Linked DNA regions of Homo sapiens: region 1 is linked to region 2. Evidence: promoter capture Hi-C in 16 types of primary human blood cells and fetal thymus (Javierre and others, 2016). All regions are on one chromosome and are shown on one strand. The core of a region is centred on a gene start or on the middle of the fragment in contact, and the rest is flanking DNA. Distances in the headings are between cores, read along the strand shown. Region 1 overlaps APP (amyloid beta precursor protein). Region 2 holds the start of MIR155HG (MIR155 host gene).

Region 1 (5,129 bases), core at 1,759-4,258, 510 kb after region 2:
TCCCCCACCTCCACTCCCCATTCCCCCACCTCCACTCCCCATTCCCCCACCTCCAGAACCTGGAAACCACCATTCTGTTTTCCATCTTTTTGAATTTGACTCTTCAAATTCAAAAAGGTACCGCATATAAGTAGAATCAAGTATCTGTCTTTTGGTGACTAGCTTGCTGTGTCCTTTTAAAAAATAAAAATTTTCATGCTTCTCTTCCATAAACCTGCATCTCATCCTATAGATTTGTCACTTTTGGCACCAACTTAAGGACTGAGCGCCTTTTCACACATCCCTAAGAGCCAAGCTGCTCCTGGTTCGCCTTTTGTTTAATTATAGAAGTTACAAAATAAGGTAGAAAGAGTTCTAGATTTGAAAACAACACAATGACTCAAGCAGATCAAGTGATTTCCAAATATTAAAAGGTGATATGATAAATGCCTCCTGGCCAGAGAGGTGCACATAGGGTGAGAGACAAGAATAAAAATTAAAACTTAACATAATTTGATAAGAGATCATCTCTGCTACTGCTGAGTATTACTAAATACCATTCTATGCAGGTCCATGTAGGATACAAAAGAACCGAGATATAGTTCTGGACCAAAACAGCTTGGAGCAGCTTTGTCTCACAGAAATATAATAGAGGCCACATATCTAATTTAAAATTTCCTGTAGCCACATTAACATAAAAAGGTAAAAAGAAACAGGTAAAATTAATTTTATTAATATATTTTAACCCAGTACATCCTAAATTTCATCATTTCAACATGCAATCAATGTAAATAATTATCATTAAGACATTCTACATTTGTTTTTTTCTCCCAGACTAACTTTTTAATATCTGGTGGGTTTTTTATACTCACAGCATAGTTTGGACTAGCCAGGTTTCAAATATTCAATGGCCATGGGTGGCTAGTGGCCACCGTTGGGCAAGACAGACTTAGCATCAGATTTTAGAGATCAATAATATATTTCAAGGAGTAGTGACTTGAATGTGGACAGGTTGGGGTTATGGGAGAAAATCTAAAGCCAAAGACACAAACCTAGGCAGAGAAACCATAATAAGCTTGAATACACTGAGACTGCAGTACACCATTTTATGCGCTATGCTATCTTAACGCATACATTTTAGTCAATGGGAGGCATATCACTAGGATTCTATGTTACCATCATTAACCCTATTGATCAGCAAACTGCTCATCTCCCCCCATTTCTCTTGTTGCAGTTCTCATATCATAAATTGTATTTATAGGTGTGTGATTAATTCTAATACAGAAATTAATTTAAGGTTTCCTTTAGACTTGAACCTACTTTAGCTTAGTTCAGTCCTCTGTATCCCGAGAGATGAGCTGAAAAAGCAGATATAGTAGAGATAATTCTAAATTCCCTACTTTGTTTCTTCAAAATATAGGTATTCTCACTGGTTGCTTTCTCCTAACACTTTCCTTTCTTTCTGCCTTATTTAAAAAAAAAAAACAAAAAACTCAAAGCCTGATAGATTTTAGAGACGCAATTAATTAAGGTTATATACGGGGCTTTTTAAAAACCACATAATTGCCGACAAAATACCAACCAGGTTGGTGTTCCGTGAGGCAAAAGAACCACAAGTCATTACCAAAACCTTAACTCATATGGGAAGGTAAAAATATACAGCATGCTGTTTTCACATACCATACTCAGAAAGCCATGTGCGAGGGAGGCTATAATCAAGACAGGAAGAGGCATTTTCACAGATAACTTCTTAACGGGGTTGTAGACTGTCACTCTCACGCCCCTCACTTGTTCTTTCCAACCTATTACCATCTGGCCTTGCTCCAACAATCTGCAACTCTTCTTTCAAGGTCAAGAACAACAAATGCCATCAGTCTCTTCTCAGCCCTCCAGTTCTCTGACTACTCTGCCACATTCTCTTTTTTTTTTTTTTTTTAAAGAGACGGGGATACCCTCTGTCAACCAGGCTGGAGTGCAGTGCTGTGATCATAGCTCACTGCAGCCTCCTGGGCTCAGACAACCTTCCTGTCTCAGCCTTCCAAGTAGCCGGGACTACCGGCACATGCCAACATGCCTGGCTAATTTTTTTTTTAATTATTTTTTGTAGAGACAGGGGTCTCGCCACGTTGCCCAAGCTGATCTCAAACTCCTGGCCTCAAGCAACTCTCCTAGCTTCAGCCTCCCAATTTGCTGGGATTCTAGGCATGGGCCACTGAACTTGGCCCACTTTTCTTCTTTAAATTCAATCTTCTCCAGTTTCCACCAATCTATCTCAAGCCAATCATTCTTTCCCTCTCATTGGCTCCTCTTTTCATAATTCTGATTATAAAGTAAGGCTCTGTCTTCTACTCTTCTTGCTTTCTCACTCAGACATATCATCCATGCCTAAGGGTCAACAGCCTCCTCCACTCTTTCAATTCTGACCTTTCACTTAGCATTCCCAGTCGCTTGCTGCATGCTTCCAATTGCAGGGTATTAATTACTTTTAGCAAATGTACTAGAATCAAGTGCCCAACTGATTATCAAATTCCGGAAGTGTACCCAAAGGACAATGACTAATTCCTCATTGGGTCAAAGTCTTTCCTATGTGGAAGCAAGAGAAAGGAACAGAACTAACACTGAACATTGTGAGGAGCCCAAAACATGACTCCTGCTGAACACATTCTATTTGGTTGTAGAACCCAACCAATATAGGCCCCGTTGATCGATTTCCCCACAACAAGAGGAGGTCATAAAAATCATGCTTCCACTTTCTCAATAGATACTTATCGCTCATGAATGTCTGTGAATCAGAAGACCATGGGACTATAACTCTACTCCACTCAAACTCTCCATACTCCCAAAGCTGGACCTCATGGTCCTCAGATCATGTAATACTCAGACACAGCACTCCAGTAAACCACTTTCTGGCCAGAAACTCATCCTTCCCATAGTTCCTCTCCCTTCCATCCACTACAGCTTGTTCATCATGATCCTGAGGTCCTGGATGCTGCAGCACTCTCTGCAGTTATCAGGGGAGGCTTCACTGCCTTCAGTTCATTTCCCTGCCAGCCTGGTCTAGGACCCTCAGCACACACACTCATCACTGCACATATCACCAACGACCACCCACATGCTTTTGATGCCCAGGCTCATTTGGTCCAGCCTATTTCTCTCCTAAGTGTGAGACTCAATAAATACACAACCACCCCACTGTGCTCTTCAAGAGCTTATTAACTGCCTCTTTTAGATTCTCCTGGGTATAGTCCAGACTTAAAATGCCTCACTTTGGGAGACAATGTAATTTAACCATTGGAGGAACAAATGTTGGTCTATATATTTCAGGCATTTTCCAAATAAAAACCTCCAAGAAAAAGCAAACTTGTATCTTAAAAGATGCAGAACTATTTAGGGCAAAAAGTACACAGAGAATGAGAAAGAAAAAAGATGTCACTGCATTTAACAAAAGAGTTAACAATATTGTTAACAATAACAAGAGTTAGCCATGAAGTAATTAGGATATAGTACTTGAAACTGGCACCACCTTTTACCAGGCATTACAATATTGCTATGAGTTCACAAAGCTCTGTTAGAGCAGAGGAAAAAGAAGGATTTGAATTCTGTCACTGTACTAGCAACACCACCTAGGGATGAGGAAGACAATATCTAATAGAATAACAAATAAAGTAAGTATACATGATTCATCAAGCTCTTCAATAAAAATGTATTTTAGAATTTATCAACATCCCTTTTGAATCATGTTTCAAAAATCACACAATCTGTTCAAACACGGATAGACCCCCAGATAAATCAGAATCTCTCTCTCTGTTACCACGCCTCTGTGGACTTAGAAATCACCACTTAGATTTGTAAACAAGGCTTAGTTTCATTATTGTAAATCAATTTGGCAGGACTTATCACTCCACAGAGAGCTGAAATAATTGAATTTCTGGACTTCTAAGGAAGAAGGTTTAAGTACATTAAGGCTTCCAAAAGGAAGATCACCAACTCTTCTTTAGCAGAAAATGCCCCTGGAGAATTTTGAACCATTTCTTGATCTAGTGGCAACTGGATGTTATCAGTGGCAACTAAGGTATCTGTCTACACCTGCTGAGGCTCACAAGTAAAAACTAAAAAGTACTGTGAATCTCTGTGATAATGGAGCGTAAAGCTACCACTTAAGTCTTTATTACTAGTAAGTAACGGATTTTAAGAAAAAAAGAGATACTCAAATCTATCTATAGATAACCAAAAAACCAAACAAAACACCCAGAAAAATCTAAGGTTGAAGAACATATATAATTTGAGACTTTTGAAACAAAACACCCAGAAAAATCTAAGGTTGAAGAACATGTATAATTTGAGACTTCTGATCAGAGCCTTCCTCAATAATGTAAGTTTAAAAACTATTACCAAAGTGACAAGATCCCATGTCAGATAGCAGAATGAGAACAAGGCTACTCTTCAACTTAGTCATCCTCTTTTATCACTACAACTTCAATCATAGATGTAAATGGAAATTTCTGCTTCCTTTGCTACTTTTCTGCTTGACTGAATTTTATAATGAAAAACGTCTGTTCCTTCCAGGCAGAGCACGAGTGTCATTCAAATTGTACACACCAGGCAAAGAGTGAATGCATTTGTTTAGATGCAAAAATCATTTAAATATGTGTCATTATAGGCTGCAGCACATTTGCGGATTCGGCAGTTTAAAATTCTCTTAAGCAATAAAGCAAGGCATCAAATGAAAGTGCACTCAGGCTTCAAACATCTTCAGACTATGTTTTCCTGTTTGCACACAGCGAGCCCCGCCTTCCTTTCCTGACCCCACTCAAACAGAAAGCAGTGGAACCATGCCCTAGCCCATCCTATTACCCCAAACGTCTTCCAGGTCAGCAATCCAAAGTCACGTGAAAGCTCCATCTTCAGTTTCCCTCTCCAGGGAGCAAATATTTTGAAGAGCAAGCATTCCAAGCAAGCAGAAACTCAGCCTTTAAATCAAACTAAGCTTAAAAGTAAGGTCCTGCCGCACACAGAAGGCAACAGAAAAGTGTCTGAAGAGATAGCTCCCATTTTATATTTAACATTTAGAAATGAGAAAACTGTGTGTGATTAATGCTTATAATTAGAGGGGGTTAACCCTTATTTCAAATAATGTAGTTCCTGTCTTT
Region 2 (5,255 bases), core at 65-2,564:
TGCTTTATAAGTGTTAGTTGTTATCATCATGATTATTCTTGTTTGAATTATAAGAGAAAAAGCATGTATCTTAAGAATAGAGGGTTTTAAAATGCTCCCAAGTTCCTTAACCAACCTGAGCCATCTGTAAATTAAGTACTATGGGATTTCCAGCTCTGACATGTATTCTGACATGTAACTGGCATCAGTTTAATACAAACTATTCTAAAATGTCTTGTGCCCTTGACAGGGAGGTCCAAGTACTGGATACTTGCAATGCAATCCAGCAGTGGCCCCGTCTTTCTTACAAAAAGGCCCCAGTCACATGTTGATGAGGCTAGATCTATTCCTGTCCTCCTTCTCTTCCCCATATTTCCTTATTCTTCTTCAAGTCTAAACGTTTATTGAACTGAGACCCATGAATGAGTTACTCGACTAGGCTTGTAGGATAAACTTGCCAGGCTTTAGATCTATTTGTTCCTTTCCATCCCCCAAAATCAAATGGCTGCTCCAGGAAAATGTTCCCCTTGTGGCAGGGTCCGGGAGAAAAGAGAGAAGCGACAAAACCAAAAATTAAAACGACCGAAGTCCCATATGCTCCAGGAATATGTCCTGGAGATGGGAGTGGAGGGCAGGGGGAGAATGTTGTTGAGGTCAAAATTTTTGAAGTTTTAAGTCCTATATCTTGACATCCCGAGTATAAATGCGGGTACCAGACACAGTACAAACGTTCTCAAAGCCCAGTTACGTATTCCAAACCAAACGCGGGCTCTTGAAGGGTGATGAGGTAGGGATGAAATCCAGGATCGCCTGAAGACCATTTCTTCCTCTCTTAGGGACCTGCTGGTCTCCAGCTGATTCGGTCCAGGAGGAAAAACCTCCCACTTGCTCCTCTCGGGCTCCCTGCAAGGAGAGAGTAGAGACACTCCTGCCACCCAGTTGCAAGAAGTCGCCACTTCCCCCTCCAGCCGACTGAAAGTTCGGGCGACGTCTGGGCCGTCATTTGAAGGCGTTTCCTTTTCTTTAAGAACAAAGGTTGGAGCCCAAGCCTTGCGGCGCGGTGCAGGAAAGTACACGGCGTGTGTTGAGAGAAAAAAAATACACACACGCAATGACCCACGAGAAAGGGAAAGGGGAAAACACCAACTACCCGGGCGCTGGGCTTTTTCGACTTTTCCTTTAAAAAGAAAAAAGTTTTTCAAGCTGTAGGTTCCAAGAACAGGCAGGAGGGGGGAGAAGGGGGGGGGGGTTGCAGAAAAGGCGCCTGGTCGGTTATGAGTCACAAGTGAGTTATAAAAGGGTCGCACGTTCGCAGGCGCGGGCTTCCTGTGCGCGGCCGAGCCCGGGCCCAGCGCCGCCTGCAGCCTCGGGAAGGGAGCGGATAGCGGAGCCCCGAGCCGCCCGCAGAGCAAGCGCGGGGAACCAAGGAGACGCTCCTGGCACTGCAGGTACGCCGACTTCAGTCTCGCGCTCCCGCCCGCCTTTCCTCTCTTGAACGTGGCAGGGACGCCGGGGGACTTCGGTGCGAGGGTCACCGCCGGGTTAACTGGCGAGGCAAGGCGGGGGCAGCGCGCACGTGGCCGTGGAGCCCGGCCTGGTCCCGCGCGCGCCTGCGGGTGCCCCCTGGGGACTCAGTGGTGTCGCCTCGCCCGGGACCAGAGATTGCGCTGGATGGATTCCCGCGGGCAGAGGCAGGGGGAAGGAGGGGTGTTCGAAACCTAATACTTGAGCTTCTTTGCAAAGTTTCCTTGGATGGTTGGGGACGTACCTGTATAATGGCCCTGGACCAGCTTCCCTGTTGGAGTGGCCAGAGAAGTGTGTAAAACACACTAGAGGGGCAGGGTGGAAAAAGAGACTGCCTTCAAAACTTGTATCTTTTCGATTTCATTTTGAAAAATAACTACAAATCTATTTTAATTTTACAAAGTTAGACTCATAGCATTTTAGATATCAATGTCTTCATTTAACAGAAGTGAAGATGGAGCAAACGCTCAATCAGCGTCTGTATTTATTCGCTCCTGTTGTGCCAGGGTGCGTTTTTGCCGAGCGGTTGCCTTTCTTTACTCACAAAACCCCCTTGATGTCTGTCCTCCACGTTTTACGAGGGAGAGCCGGATCTTTTGAAGTTTGTATCATCTAAAGCAGGTATATTGGGATGACTATGGATAGAATTTAACCTGAAAACACTGAAGTTGACAGCTGACAAAGATATAAGAATCCAAAGTATGTTAAAAATTAAGGAGCTGAGGCCCACAGAAGTGAAGTTACTTTTCCAGCATCACACAGCAGATCTAGGACCCTGTGTGATTTGAAAAGGCCAAGGTATCTAATGATGCTCATAATTTAGTTTACATTTTGTGTCAAATAGATGAGGTCAAGTGGACATTATGTGTATATTCCAAAGCCAAAATTACTGCTTGTAATATCCATTCATCTCTCCGAAGACGTAGTGCCTCTTTTATATGGCTTTAACCTAATGTATAATCGAAGTGAATTAGGGCAGCCAGACTTTTAATCACAGGACTGATCTTTTAAAAACGGGTATATGTAAAGTTAATTGCTTATCTATGTGAACAGTAATATACACTATAAAAAGTTTTCAAGGCAACTTCCTGCCTGTGGTTTAATTTGATAGTCACAATGATAGGAAATTGGCAGGGTTAGGTGGTGGTATCTACATTTTGCCCATGAGGACTTGTGGCTCAGAGAATTTGAGTTTTTTCTAGTAAGGTCACTAGGTCCCTAGTGCACAGCCTGCTTTTAGGTACGGATGTGGGATGGGGGTGTCGGCAGACCACAGGGTTTTGACTCTCAGTTTGGGCTCATTTCCATGACTCCTTGCTGCCTCCCTGATTTCTGTCAAATGACCAAAGCACATTTAGTAATTACTTCTGCTGCAAGGACTACTCCTTATTAGGCTGTGATAAGTAAGTTTCCTCACATAGTGGGTCAGCTCACTCTGGCCACAGGACCCAGCTTCCTAACCACACACATTAAGAAAGAGAAAAATTAGCACTGTCTGAGACCTACAACCACTTCAAGGGAGAACAGTGGTGTTTGCACAAATGTCTACTTTTGTTTTAACCTAGTCATGTGTAAAAAGTGTAATTCACTGGTCTTTACCAAAAAAAAAAAAAAAAAAACAACAACAAAAAAAAAACAGGCATCATAGTCTGCCTGTGCTGGACGCTATGCTAGACACTGGAGAGACAAAGGTGAGCAGGATAGGCACAACCCTACCCTTACAAACCCAGAAAGTTAGAGGAAAGGCCATCAGGACATTGCTGTGCAATTTGATATCATTTCAATTTTGGTAACATAGATATTTGAACTAATTAGAATGTGCTACAAATTTTGCCATTCTTTACTTTCCATATGCCAACATGGAAAATTTGTAACCCTCATCTTTAAATACCTCATCTTACCAGTCCTCTATAAATCAAAAAATCTACCCCAAAAAGCCCTAGGTTTTAACTTTTGAAAAGTTTTTTTTTATCAGCTTTTCAGGTCATGACTAAGATCTGCCATTCAATTTAAAGGAATTCTTTCATTTTAGAGTAATAGTTACTAAAATCCTTTATTCCTACCTCCTTGAGAATCTAATGGAAATTTTATATGCTCTTCCCAGAAAATTTTTGTTAATGTGTATCCTCACACACCAATTTGCATTCGATGTTAGCAGGCTAGAGACTTCCTTGAATCTCAGCCATGACCCTCTTCGGGGGTCCACTTTCATAATCAGTATTCTAAACCTAGTAGGCATAAATAGCTTGAATAGAGGAAAGTGGTATGTAGACTCTTGCCCTTCACTTGGACTGGGCACCTCTATCACTTGGACTGGGCACCAGCTAGTGCCCTTAACTAGCTGGTGTCTCCATTTTTGATAGTCATTGGCTATTGCTTAGCTGAAGCTATTGATTTTAACAGCCTTATTGTTTTGATATCAGGCTGCCACTCTGCAGAAGTCTAATACTGGGGAAGGAGCACCGGCCTGAGAACCATGGTTTGTTTCTAGGACCAACTCTGCAGATTTCTGTGCCTCATTTTGCTCATCTCTAAGATGGGTGGTTGATGGGTGGCAGGGACTGAACCATTTCTAAAATCCCTTACACTGATGAAATTCTGTGATTCCAGTGTAACTACCAAGCTCACTTTCATATACCTCCTGAGACACAGCTGGTCTTAGTGAATTTATATCCTCTATGTCCAAAGTAAGTCAAAGTAAGTACCACTATAATTCACTATAGAATGTATTTTTGTCTTTCACTGATCTTACTGGACTCAAAACTGTTACATGTTTCCTTAAATTAGATAGAATAAAAAAATTGTGAAACACTACTTTTCAAGGAAAAATATTACAATTTTAAAAGCCTCTTTTTATCCCACCTCTCAGTAGCTACAACTTTCATATACGAGTTTCACATATATATGAAAAAAATTTTCTTATCTCAGACTCTTAAGGAAATGCAATGCTTTTAATATGATCACTGCTGTGTAATTCTCATCTGCCCTGAAACACTTGTTCTGTCCATCAATCAATGTATTTGGGTTTACAATATGCAGAGCCTCAAGCAAAACCAGTGCAAAAGCACATCTATCCTCAAATAGGCACATCATATGTCTGAGCAGTTCAGCATCCTCACTCACAAGTCCAAGGCTCTCAGCAATGTGGAAGAAGATGTGATTCCTAAAATTACCACCCTTACACACAGTGACACACTCACCAGAAAGTGAGGCTTAACATAGCTTAAGTGGCTGTAGTTTAAAACAGATTGTGAATATCTGTGCTAATTCTGAGAAACAATTAGCAGACATATTAACCAATTAGCACAGATCACTAATATCTGTGCTAATTGTTAGGACAGATTAGCACAGATATTGCTACCTTGTGTGGGTAGACAGGGTTAAGGCACTGGCAGAAGGAAAGATTAGTGAGGAATATCAAATAGCTGATTTAATGAAATTGTGAGGCCGATGTTTGGATAAGGTGAAACAGTGCCCTACAATGACATTTATGCCAGTTCTCCATAAACAAGAGTGTTCTACACAAATTATAAGTTCCTGGCTGTCTTAACAAAATGCTATGGTCCTTTATATGCTCACACAAATAATGGTTCCAAGCATGGGAAACAGGTGCCAGATTGCCCAGGTAGGCATCCCAGCAGCATGCTCCTTAGCCACTGATTAACCTTGCGCAAGTTATTTCACCTGCCTGTGCCTCAAGGCCCCTGTGTTTCAATGGGGAGGGTGTGAATACTCATTCCTAAGGTTGTGAG

Evidence for each region. The method cuts DNA at HindIII sites, captures the fragments that hold promoters and counts their contacts. A CHiCAGO score of 5 or more calls a contact.
Region 1: a contact is called between a fragment that was not itself captured here and the fragment with the promoter of MIR155HG in region 2, in 1 of 17 cell types (non-activated CD4 T cells). The highest score is 5.1, in non-activated CD4 T cells.

What each region holds. Positions count from the first base shown.
Region 1 is chr21:26,066,466-26,071,594 of GRCh38, forward strand. The region is part of intron 3 of APP (amyloid beta precursor protein); the gene reads right to left. Among named protein-coding and RNA genes, the nearest start is that of APP, 100 kb to the right of the region's middle. The HindIII fragment of the contact is 3,912 bases long and covers 1,053-4,964 here.
Region 2 is chr21:25,560,831-25,566,085 of GRCh38, forward strand. MIR155HG (MIR155 host gene) reads left to right here and starts at 1,315. Exons shown (of 3, transcript NR_001458.3): 1 at 1,315-1,427. RefSeq lists enhancers at 850-899, 4,042-4,121 and silencers at 1,280-1,369, 1,380-1,659, 4,580-4,639. The HindIII fragment of the contact is 13,141 bases long and covers 1-5,255 here.